Linked DNA regions of Homo sapiens: all the other regions are linked to region 4. The links are contacts of gene promoters, found by promoter capture Hi-C in human tissues and cell types (Jung and others, 2019). All regions are on one chromosome and are shown on one strand. Each heading gives the region's core, a stretch centred on a gene start or on the middle of the fragment in contact. The rest is flanking DNA. Distances are from core to core; before and after follow the strand shown. Region 1 overlaps DYNC2I2 (dynein 2 intermediate chain 2). Region 2 has its middle 1.9 kb from the start of SET. Region 3 overlaps SPTAN1 (spectrin alpha, non-erythrocytic 1). Region 4 holds the start of ENDOG (endonuclease G).

Region 1 (2,842 bases), core at 1-2,500, 180 kb after region 4:
AGCTCTGGGGCTTCAAGTCACATGTCTGGTCAGAAACTCTCCAGAGCTTTGTGACCTCCCCCGGGAATACTTGGTGCCTCCCCGTGGGTGGCTGAGGCATCTGAGTCCAAAGCAGGCCCCACAGAACTGCCCTGTGTTCTCTGCCTGAGTGTGACCTCACATCTGGGGACGCCCCGTCCACAGGTTCTCAGTGCAGATCCCAGGGTCACCCTGGATTTCCTTCTTTCCACGATTCCCAGAGTCCAACACGTCGTCTTGGGCTTTACTTGCTCTGTTGCCCAGGCTGGAGTGCAGTGGCACAATCAACTGCTCACTGCAGCCTCCACTTCCTGGACTCAAGCAATCTTCACACTTTAGCCTTCTGAGTAGCTGGGGACTACAGGATGCGCCGTCATGCCTGGCAATTTTTTTTTTTTTTTTTGAGATGGAGTCTCACTCTGTCACCCAGGCTGGAGTGCAGTGGCACGATCTCGGCTCACTGCAACCTCCGCCCCCCAAGTTCAAGCGATTCTCCTGCCTCAGCCTCCTGAGCAATTGGGATTACAGGCGCCTGCCACTGCACCTGGCTAATTTTTTTGTATTTTTAGTAGAGACGGGGTTTCACCATCTTGGCCAGGCTGGTCTTGAAGTCCTGACCTCATGATCAACCCGCCTCAGCCTCCCAGAGTGCTGGGATTACAGGCATGAGCCACTGCGCCTGGCTTCTGGCAAATTTTTAATTGTTTTGTAGGTACAGAGTTTCCCTCTGTTGCCCAGGCTGGTCTCAAACTCCTAGACTCAAGTGATCCTCTTGCTTCAGCCTCCCAAAGTGCTGGAATCACAGGCGTGAGCCACGGCGCTCAGGGGATTTTCCTCCACGACATTTTATTCTGGCCCACTACACTCCTTCCTGAAGCTTTCCACTTGGCCGGCTCCTTCATGTCCTTCACATCTCAGCTCAAACGCCATCTCCCTAAGAGGCCACCCTCGCCATCCCATCCAGACAGCCTCCCTTGCTGTTTCCTTCCTTTCTCGTGCCTCTGCATGTGCTCAGTGCTGTGTGGATTTGGTGTTTTTTTCTTGTTTATTCATCTCTCCCCACCCCTATGTAAGCGCCTGGGGCACAAGAATCTTGCACATTTTCTTTTCTGCTGTGTCCTCATTACCCAGACAATGCCTGGCAAGTAGATGCTCAATAAGTAATTTTTTTTTTTGAAATGGAGTCTCGCTCTGTCACCCGGGCTGGAGTGCAGTGGCACAATCTCGGCTCACTGTAAGCTCTGCCTCCCAGGTTCACGCCTTCCCGAGTAGCTGGGACTACAGGCACCCAGGACCATGCCCGGCTAATTTTTTTGTATTTTTAGTAGAGACGGGGTTTCACCGTATTAGCCAGGATGGTCTCGATCTCCTGACCTTGTGATCCGCCCGCCTCGGCCTCCCAAAGTGCTGGGATTACAGGCGTGAGCCACTGCGCCCGGCCTCAATAAGTAATTTTTTTTTTTTTTTTTTTTTTTTGAGAAAGTCTCCTACCATAGGCCAGGCTGGAGTGCAGTGGCATGATCTCGGCTCAGTGCAACCTCCGCCTCCCGGGTTCAAGCAGTTCTCCTGCCTCAGCCTTCTGAGTAGCTAGGATTACAGGCACGCGCCACCACACCCGGCTAATTTTTTTTTTTTTTTTTTTTGAGACGGAGTCTTGCTCTGTCGCTCAGGCTGGAGTGTAGTGGCACGATCTTGGCTCACTGCAAGCTCCGCCTCCTGGGTTCACGCCATTCTCCTGCCTCAGCCTCCCGAGTAGCTGGGACTACAGATGCTCGCCACTATGCCCAGCTAATTTTTTGTATTTTTAGTACAGATTGGGTTTCACCGTGTTAGCCAGGATGGTCTTGATCTCCTGATCTTGTGATCCGCCCGCCTCGGCCTCCCAAAATTCTGGGATTACAGGCGTGAGCCACCGTGCCCGGCATTTGTGTGTGTGTGTGTGTGTGTGTGTGTATGTATATAAATGAACATCTGCTTTGTGCCAAATACCATGCAAAGTGCTGGGGATACAAAGATCAGACAAGAGTCTTATGCTGGGGGGCTGGCGGTTCAGTAGGACACAGACAAGCAGAGAGAACTGAGTGGCCTGTGGAGGTGAGGGTGGGTACCAGTGCTGAGGCCTGTGTGTTCAGAAGAGAACTGTCCTGGTGAGTCCTGCCCTCTTCCTCCGGGCTTGCCTCCTGGCCCAGCTCGAATCCCGCATGAGATGGGAAGGAGGGAGTGTGGCAGTCCAGGGCCTTGTCATTGTCCCTTGAGCAGCCACCCGAGGAGAGCCCCTCACAGATAGCAGCAATCACCATGATTGCTTCCGCCCAGAGAGCCTTGGTTTGGTGAAGATTGGGCATGTCTGTAAGAAAGGGAGGCTGGCCTCTCCTGCCCTGTTCTGATGTTTGTACCTGTGCCAGGTACAGCTAAGCAGGGGACCAGGAATAGTAGGCGTGGTGGCAGGGTGGAGAGCAAGGCCTCTGGGGGCAGTGCTCTGCCTCCCACCTAGCAGCTCATAGTGGATGCTGAAGCTGCTGTTGCTTACCCGGGTGCTGGGAGGGCTGCCCGTTGAGGGAGGGCCTGGTGGTGTGAAGCTGGGGTGTTCATGGGCATCAGACCATGTGTCTGCCAGGGTGCTGCTGTGAGCCGATGTGGTTCTGCCTGCCCTCCGCATCTTCAGAAAGGGAGCCCTCTGACTCCTCCGAATTGTTGCACCAAAAGTCTTGGGGCAGGGTCTCACTGGCCTGTGTTGGTCACTTGGCCAGCCCTGAATTGGTCACTGTGGCTGAGGTAGGGACACGGTGCTCTGATTGGCTGGCACTGATTGGTTGTGGGACAT
Region 2 (3,069 bases), core at 283-2,782, 130 kb after region 4:
AATTCCGCCCGGCCTCTCGGCGCCTTCCACTTCGTGGAGAAAGCAGGGGGCACCCCATTCTGGATGCCAGATGGGGAACTGCCGATCGGACTCAAACTCGGGCTCGTGTGCGAAGCCCCAGGCTGTGTAATCCGCGCGCAGGGCCATTCCTGGGTTTTAGTCCAAGCCCTGCCCAGCAAGCTTGTACCCTTGAGCAAGTCACCCTTCCTCTCTGAACCCGTTTCTGTTATGAAATGATAAAGGTTACGACACTGAAGCCACATTAAACTCGAAGTCCTGTGAAGGCAGGGAGGTACCACATTAGTCCGCGGTGCCCAGCGCCCGCAAGAATCATACTGAGCGTTAAGTGCCAGTTTCAGCAGCGCATGGCACGGTTATCTCACCGAGGCCTCACAACAGCCCCAAGCGATAGGCGGTGTTCTGTTCATAGAGATGAAAGGGGCCAACAAGTTCTACTTGAGAGGCAAAGTTCTGAACCACTAAGGAGGGCCAAAGCATTTTGTTTAAATAATACTTTTCAAGTAATGCGGATGCCCCACATTCTGTCCCTCCAGCACCCCAAGACATGAACCATAAAAAGCCAGAAAAACCCTGATTAGTAGCATTTGTTTGTTTGTTTTGAGACGGGAGTCTTGCTCTGTCCCCCAGGCTGGAGTGCAGTGGCGCAATCTTGGCTCACTGCAAGCTCTGCCTCTCGGGTTCAAGCAATTCTCCTGCCTCGGCCTCCCGAGTAGCTGGGGCTACAGGCACGTGCCACCATGCCCGGCTAATTTTTGTATTTTTAGTAGAGATGGAGTTTCACCACCTTGGCCAGGCTGGTCTACTGACCTGGGGTGATCCACTCACCTCGTCCTCCCAAAGTGCTGGGATTACAGGCGGGAGCCACTGCGCCCGGCCAGTACCATTTGTTGATTTTAGTGATACGCTGGCCAATTTCAAATCCTGGCCATGCAATAGCTCACTCCTGTTATCCCAACACTTTGGGAGGCCAAGGCAGGAGGATCGCTTGGGCCCAGGAATTCCAGGCTTCAATGAGCCCCAATGCAGCCACTGCACTGAAGCCTGAGTGACAGAGCAAGACCCTATCTCTAAAACAAAAACAAAAAAATACCTGAAATCTCTCTTTGGACATTTTTAACCAGAACTTGGGGTTGGAATTCTGCCTTCCAGAACTCACACTTTACCATTGGCTCTTTTTTTTTTTTTTTTTTTTTGGTGGGGGAGGGGACCAAGTCTCATTCTGTCTTCCAGGCTGGAGTGCAGTGGTGCCATCTCAGCTCACTGCAACCTCCGCCTCCCGGGTTCAAGTGATTCTCCTGCCTCAGCATCCTGAGTTGCTAGGATTACAGATGTGAGTCACCACGCCCTGCTAATTTTTGTATTTTTTGGTAGAGACAGGTTTTCACCATGTTGGCCAGACTGGTCTCAAACTCCTGACCTCAGGTGATCCACCTGCCTCTGCCTCCCAAAGTGCTGAGATTACAGGCATGAGCCACTGAGCTCGGCCCACTATCAGCTCTTAAAGCTCAAGCAGCATCTTTCATGTTCAAGACAGTGCACGGTGAGTGTCTTAGCCTCCCGAGTATCTGGGATTACAGGCGCCCACTACCATGCCAAGCTAATTTTTGTATTTTTTAGTAGAGACGGGGTTTCACCATGTTGGCCAGGCTGGTCTCGAACTCCCGACCTCAGGTGATCTGCCCACCTCGGCCTCCCAAAGTGCTGGGACTACAGGCATGAGCCACCCACTGTGCCTAGCATAAACTAAACTTTGTTGCAAGTGACAGAACCAAGATTCTAAACCAAGTAGCAATTGACAAAGCCCTTACCTTAAAACAGTTTTTCTATTTTTATTGTTGTTATTATTATGAGACAGGGTCTCTCTCTGTCGCCCAGAACCATGGCTCACTGCAGCCTTGACCTCCTGGGCTCTGGGGATTCTTACACCTCAGCCTTCTGAGTAGCTGGGACCACAGGCAAGCACCACTGCCACCTTGCCTGGCTAATTTTGTTTTTATCTTTTGTAGAGAGGAGGTATCACCATGTTGCCCAGGCTGGTCTCAAACTCCTGAGCTCAAACCATCCTTCAGCCTCAGCCTTCCAGAGCTCTGGGATTACAAGAGTTAGCCATCGCACCCTGCCTCAGTTTTTTTAATGTGACCAACAGTCAGAAGTACTTTTGACATCATGACCTAGCACACACAAACCAAAACTTACCCTTACCAAGGGTGATGTGATTCTAATTTCCTATTTAAAATGCAGGTCACACCCCACCAAATTGATTTCACGACCCGCTCCTGGGCTGAGTCTGTCTGAGAACACTATGCCAAGGGCTGGCTGCTTCCATCCTCAAAGCCTGACCCATAGGGTCACTCCTGACCCACAATGTCTCCTAAGTGCCTTATCTGCCTGTTTCCCAAGCACCTGCAGGGGTCCCAGGGAACCCTGTAATGCCTTCTGATGGGGGAGTGGGCTTTCAGGTTCCCTTTCTGGCCTCCCAACCCTCCCTGCCACCTCCCTGCCCCTCTTTTCCTGCCCTTCCCCACACAGTGCTTCTCAAGATAAATATGAGCACACTAGGAAGTTGAAGAGAAAGAGAAAGCAAAAGGGCCAGGGGTGTGAGTAAACACAGGCGAGCCGGGGGCACACTGAGAGGTTATTCACCCACTCTTAGGACTCTGCTCTCTCCCCGTCTCCAACACCAGAAGCTCTGCATTCTCTCTTCTTGGCCTCTCCCCTCACTCAGAATTCCTCCCTTGCCTCTCTCCTCTCCTCCTGGCCCCTCTGGTTGTTTTTTTTTTTGTTGTTGTTGTTGTTGTTCTTGTCGCCCAGGCTGGAGTGCAATGGCACGAACTCGGCTCATTGCAACCTCCGCCTCCGGAGTTCAAGCAATTCTCCTGCCTTAGCCCCCCAAGTAGCTGGGATTACAGGCATGCATCGTCACGCCTGGCTAACTGTCTTTGGTAGAGATGGGGTTTAGCCATGTTGGCCAGGCTGGTCTTGAACTTCTGACCTCAGGTGATCTGCCCACCTCGGCCTCCCAAAGTGCTGGGATTACAGGCGTCAGCC
Region 3 (2,853 bases), core at 222-2,721, 210 kb after region 4:
TAGCTGTTCCTCTCCTGACTGGCACCTCTGGATGCCAGAGTGGGTATGCATTAAAACCCTCACACCAGACTGGCCTCCCCAACCCAGGCCACCGAACACCATGAGCTCATAGCAAGTCTGAGCCAATGTCTACACAGAAAAAGCTGAAGCTGATGTTCCATCTTCAAAAGGAAGCACTCCTTGAAAGAAAATGGTCAATTACTGCCCCGCAAATCAAACACTGTACAGAATTTGCCTAAGTGATAAACTGGGGGAGAGAAGGGGGAGTAAGGCGTTGCAGGCTAATTACAACAGAAAAAGCCACATCCCACAGGGACACTTGAATGGAGTGTAATGGATGATTAGAAATGAAAAGGATGGATGAAGAGACACCAGCAAACCGTGTGACCACAATAATAACAATAATCTACGCAGAGTAACACAAATACTGGAGCTCATTTAACTACAACTCTTAAAAAAATTAAAAACTTACCAGCAGCTTGGAAAGCTACAAAAACAGATTAAAAGAACAAGAGTTCAGTACACTGATGTGGACACACATATCAGCTATTAAATAGAAACTCATTTTGTCATACTTCCCCCAGGAAGCTCAGCATTTGGGAACAGTAATAGAAGGGGGATTCTATAGACTTTTATTACAGCAGAAATAGTTTTAATGGAGACAAATGAGGAAGGCAACTTTTAAATGGCTCTGAAACTTGACTAGGGCTTTCCCACTGGCTGGGCTTACTGAAATATTTCTCACTGACTTCCCATGGGTGCAAGGAGATTGTTTTATAAATGCTTTATTTAACAAAATCTACTCAATAACATAAGGCTACATCAAGACCAACACCCAGTCACTTCAGCTTACCTGGATGTTGGTGGGATCCTTGTACGACTCATCACTCGCTGTTTGCAATTTTTCACTGATCCAAGCCTCAATCTCATCCACATCCCGGCTGAACTGTTGGAGGGTTTGAGATTCTCCTAGCTTTGACCTTTTCTCAATCATCTGGGCTTTCAGACGTCGCCACCTGAAAGAGTGAAACCATGAGATCCAACATGAGCATATCTTACCGTGGAGAAGGAAGTGGGGAGACAGAACAGGCCTGGGCCTTCGTATGAGGGGATGCATCCTCTCAGGGCTGGTGACTATGTCAGTGCCACAGGACACCCACCTGTCCAAGACCTCATTGCGCCGGCTAGAAATGTCTCCCTTGGCATAATGGCCGGCAGCGATGAGCTGGTCGGCAAAGGCCTGCAGAGCAGCAATCTTCTCTTCCTGTCAGAAAACAAAGGCATGAGATCAAGGTGGGCCTGTGGCTGGGCCCTGCCTGGACTGCCAGTCTTGAGAAAAGGATAGTTATTTTGGGTGACTGAGAACTAGCTGGTGGCAGGATCAGAATACACTGACACTTTAGAAGCAAGAGTGTAAAATGCCAAAAGAAAGCTTGATTTCATTCATTACTAGAGTAGAGTTTAACTCAAGAAGTCTCCAGGTCACTCAGGTGGGGCAGGTGTTAGAATATCAGAACAGAACAAAATTAAGCCTGATAATAGGAAAATGCTGTCAGATTTACAGCAAAGTGACGTATAAATCAAACAGTTTTACATCTTCCTTGTTGTTTGTTCATTATTCCCTTACCTACCCACACATTTGTTTTCCATCCCTTTGATAATATTTTTTTTTCCTGTGGCACCCCCATTATTAAAATCTCAGAAATACCAGAATCTATAAAGTTTTAAAGATTATTTATGTACATATTTTTCTTAGACAACGCAGGTATTCCTTGGAGATATAACAGTGACTATATAAGCCAAGAAACAGATGTCAATCAGGAAAAATCCAGACTCCAACTCCATGGTCCAGAGGCCTCACCTGGACGTTAATCGCTTTGTCAAAGTCTTCATGTTTTTTGATCAGAGCCTCTACGCTGTCCAGTGAGTCTCCTTTGTCTTCGGTATTCAAGAAGGCCTCCCGGGCAGCCATCCAGTTCTCAGCTTGCTCACAGTCCCGATGGAACAGCTAAAGAGGGCAAGAGGCAGGTGAGAAAATGAGGCCCTTCAGCAAGGAAACACTTGGTCAGAAACCAGGAGCACACACACCTGCAGTTCAAGGCACTGATCCAGCATCATCCTGCGCTGAACCCAGGCCTTCTCCAGGTCTGCACGCTCCTGGTCAAGAATATCAAGTTTCTGCTTGATCTCAGGGCTGGCATAGTGTCCGTGAGCCAACAGCTGCTGTCCAAACTGCTCAAATGCCTGGAAAGTGCCAGCCCTGGCATCGATTTCTGTCCGGTGTTCCTGCCAAAAGGAGGGAAGGGATTAGGTAACTGGCAGCAGATGCCCACTCTGACGTCAACCACCGACTCACCACAAAGGGTGGGAATGAGGCCTCTAGGGCCCTGCAGAGCAGCCACGTCTTTGCTACTCAGCAGGCAGGTCCACCCACCTGGTGTCGCTCCAGCAATGCCTCAGCTCCGGTGACATCCTTGGCTAGCTCATCTGAGGACACCAACCCCCGTATTCCATTGATCCAAGACATGAGGTCCCTGGAAACCAGCACCCCAGAAAAATAGCTATTATATTACCTGGTAAGGAGATCTTCTGCCCAGGAAAACAGAGAATGACATAATTCTTGCCTCAGAAAGTTATCTTGGGTTAATCTGATCTACTGAATGAGGCTAGGTCTTTGGGCAAAGTGTTAAAAAACTTCTTGTTATTTTTTTAAAAGTCCGAATTTCTCAGAGGAAAAGTCAGTAGGCTTATAATTAAGATCTTTTCACCCTCCAGAATAACAAGTTCTAGCTACAATTAAGTCTTTGATAGCTTCAAATGAAAAAGCTTTTGTTGGCCAGGCGTGGTGGCTCA
Region 4 (2,700 bases), core at 179-2,678:
CAGCAGCCTGAGCTCCGCCTCCTGTCAGATCAGTGGCGGCTGGAGATTGTCATAGGAGCTGGAACCCTATGGTGAACTGCGCATGTGAGGAGGTTGCGCGCTTCTTTTGAAAACCTAATGCCTGATCTGTCGTTGTTGCCCATCACCTCCAGATAGGACTGTCTAGTTGCAGGAAAACAAGCTCAGGGCTCCCACGGATCCTACATTACTGTGAGTTGTATATTTCACTATATGTTACAATGTAATAATAATAGAAATAAAATGTACATAAATGTAACGCACTTGAATTATCCTGAAACCCGCCCTCACCCACCAAGCCGTGGAAAAACTGTCTTCCACGAAACCGCACCCTGGTGCCCAATAGGTTGGGCGCTGCGGTTCTACAACAGACAGCCTTCTTCTGCTGTGTGACACTGTGCCCGTCACTTTGCCTCTGTGAGCCTCAGCGCCTCATCACTACCGCAGGAGGAAGGTGAATAACGGTATTATCCCCATTTTTTTGACGAGGAAAGCGACGCTCAGGGAGGTGCCCAGGGTTCGCAGTTGAAGCTCAAGCCCTGGTCGGCCTGCAGACCCTGTGCCTGGAGCCCAGTGCTCCTCCCTCCCGCCACGGGATGTCACTGCGATGCCTGACCGGGGGCGCGTTGGGCAGCTGCCCCGTTCTGCAGAAGAACAAACCGAGGCCCCGCGAGGCCAGGCGCCGGCCCCGCATTCCGCGACCGGCCCGGGGCGCGGGCGCTACCTGGGGCGCGACGTTGCTCAGGTAGAACGTGTCGTCCATGGCCTTCTGGCTCCAGCGGTGGTTGGCGGCGGCGGCCAGGTGACCGCGGTCGAAGCCACTGCCGCGGTAGTCGGCGTTGGTGGCACGGTGGTACGCGTGCACCGAGTCGTCCTCGCGGAAGTCGCACTCGCGCCGGTCGCCGTCGCCGCGGAGACGCTCGGGTCGCAGCTGCTCCACCACCCAGAGCGCGCCGCGGGTGCGCGGGTCGTAGCACAGCACGTACGACTCGCGGCTCTTGAGCTGCGCCAGCCCCGGCAGCCCGTACTTGGCCAGCTCGCCCGGGCCGCGGGGTCCCCCGGGCACAGGGGGCAACTCGGCTGCCGCCGCCACGGGCAGCACGGGCAGCCGGCCCAGCAGTCCCGGCGCCGCCCGCGCGTCCTCCCGCCGCCGCCGCCAGCCCTCGACGACCGCACCCAGCCCCGCGCCCGACGCCAGGGTCAGGCCGGCCCGCAGCGCCCGCATGGCCGGGGAGCGACCTAGCGGCGGGCGACCCGCGAGGCTCTTAAAGGAGCCGCGTCGCGGGATCCAACGAGGGCACAGGGCTGCTGGGGCCGCGGACGATAGCGTGACCTCCCTTCCACTCACAAACACTGCCAAGGGCTTGGGCCTCGGAACCCAGAAGGGAGCAGCAGAGCCCAACCGGGTGTCCCCGGCGTCCTTTCTTTGCGCATTTAAGACGCCGGTATGAGGGGCGTGGCATCGTCGCCTCAGCTCGCGATTGGCCACCATCAGGCCTGGCTCCGCACCCGCCTCGCAGGCCCCCTGCTGGTCGTGGGGTGGGAGACACTCTCTCCTCTGCGCCTGCGCAGGGAGCTCCTGCTTAATACGCTCCGCGGAAGGGTCAAGCACTGTCGAAAGCTTTTACTGTCACTGCTTAGTCTCACCCTCTACACCGCTCGGAGAGTGAGCTCCTAGTTCGCAGAGCAGGCACAGGGCCCCAGGTATATCTGGCCCTAGGCTATCCTCCATGACACCATAAAATAAGCCCCGCAATTCTACCAGATTGGCAAAGGTTTCTTTTTTTTTTTTTTTTTTTTTGAGACGGAGTTTCGCTCTGGTCGCCCAGACTCGAGTGCAATGGCGTGATCTCGGCTCACTGCAACCTCCGCCTCACAGGTTCAAGCGATTCTCCTGCTTCAGCCTCCCAAGTAGCTGGGATTACAGGCATGCGCCACCACGCCCGGCTAATTTTGTATCTTTAGTAGAGACAGGGTTTCTCCATGTTGGTCAGGCTGGTCTCAAACTCCCGACCTCAGGCGATCCGCCGGCCTCGGCCTCCCAAAGTGTTGGCATTACAGGCGTGAGCCACCGCGCCCGGCCCAGATTGGCAAAGATTTTAATTAACAGCAGTTTGAGGACAAGGATGCAGACGGCTGATGCTGGCTGCTGGCTGGAACAGAAACCTGGGGCGAATATTCCAAAAAACAGCTTGACAGTACAGTACAAGCGAAGCCTTAAAAAGGTTCATACCGTTCAACCCACGCAGAGGGCTGAGCTGGGGAAATCTCGGGAATGCAAGGATCTCGAACGCAAATATTCACCAGAGTATTACACTGCCGGCAGGAATAAGCAAAATATTCAGAAATATGGACTGGTTAAGGACTTTTATTTTTTGAGACGGAGTCTCACTCTATTGCCCAGGCTGGAGTGCAATGGCGTGATCTCCGCGCAGTGGAACCTCTGCCTCCCAGGTTCAAGTGATTCTCCTGCCTCAGCCTCTGAAGTAGCTGGGATTACAGGCGCGCACCACCAGGCCCAGCTAATTTTTTTTTTTTTTTGAGACGGAGTCTCGCTCTGTCGCCCAGGCTCACTGCAACCTCCGCCTCCTTGGTTCAAGCGATTCTCGTGCCTCGGCCTCCTGAGTAGCTGGGACTACAGGCGCGCGCCACCACGCCCAGCTAATTTTTGTACTTTTAGTA

What was found. Contacts are between HindIII fragments. The study calls those that stand out against the background at their distance.
Region 1: a contact is called between a fragment that was not itself captured here and the fragment with the promoter of ENDOG in region 4, in 1 of the 25 tissues and cell types used here (heart left ventricle).
Region 2: a fragment that was not itself captured here is called in contact with the fragment with the promoter of ENDOG in region 4 in 1 of the 25 tissues and cell types used here (IMR-90 fibroblasts).
Region 3: a contact is called between a fragment that was not itself captured here and the fragment with the promoter of ENDOG in region 4, in 2 of the 25 tissues and cell types used here (IMR-90 fibroblasts and lymphoblastoid cells).

Annotation. Positions count from the first base shown.
Region 1 is chr9:128,641,106-128,643,947 of GRCh38, reverse strand. All of the region lies in intron 1 of DYNC2I2 (dynein 2 intermediate chain 2), which reads left to right. Among named protein-coding and RNA genes, the nearest start is that of DYNC2I2, 14 kb to the left of the region's middle. RefSeq lists an enhancer at 2,486-2,842. The HindIII fragment of the contact is 3,394 bases long and covers 1-2,842 here.
Region 2 is chr9:128,685,763-128,688,831 of GRCh38, reverse strand. It overlaps a transcript of SET not described here. Among named protein-coding and RNA genes, the nearest start is that of SET, 1.9 kb to the left of the region's middle. RefSeq lists a silencer at 1-150 and enhancers at 437-1,313, 2,664-2,763, 2,804-2,893. The HindIII fragment of the contact is 6,109 bases long and covers 1-3,069 here.
Region 3 is chr9:128,607,285-128,610,137 of GRCh38, reverse strand. It overlaps SPTAN1 (spectrin alpha, non-erythrocytic 1), which reads right to left. Exons shown (of 57, transcript NM_001130438.3): 32 at 2,435-2,534; 33 at 2,089-2,286; 34 at 1,862-2,008; 35 at 1,161-1,264; 36 at 854-1,016; 37 at 473-487. Among named protein-coding and RNA genes, the nearest start is that of DYNC2I2, 48 kb to the left of the region's middle. The HindIII fragment of the contact is 5,536 bases long and covers 1-2,853 here.
Region 4 is chr9:128,817,228-128,819,927 of GRCh38, reverse strand. ENDOG (endonuclease G) reads right to left here and starts at 1,428. Exons shown (of 3, transcript NM_004435.2): 1 at 743-1,428. The coding sequence starts at 1,243. KYAT1-SPOUT1 (KYAT1-SPOUT1 readthrough) reads left to right here. Exons shown (of 25, transcript NR_182311.1): 25 at 1-277. It overlaps SPOUT1 (SPOUT domain containing methyltransferase 1), which reads left to right. Exons shown (of 12, transcript NM_016390.4): 12 at 1-277. RefSeq lists enhancers at 425-514, 465-1,030 and a silencer at 1,135-1,194. The HindIII fragment of the contact is 9,516 bases long and covers 1-2,700 here.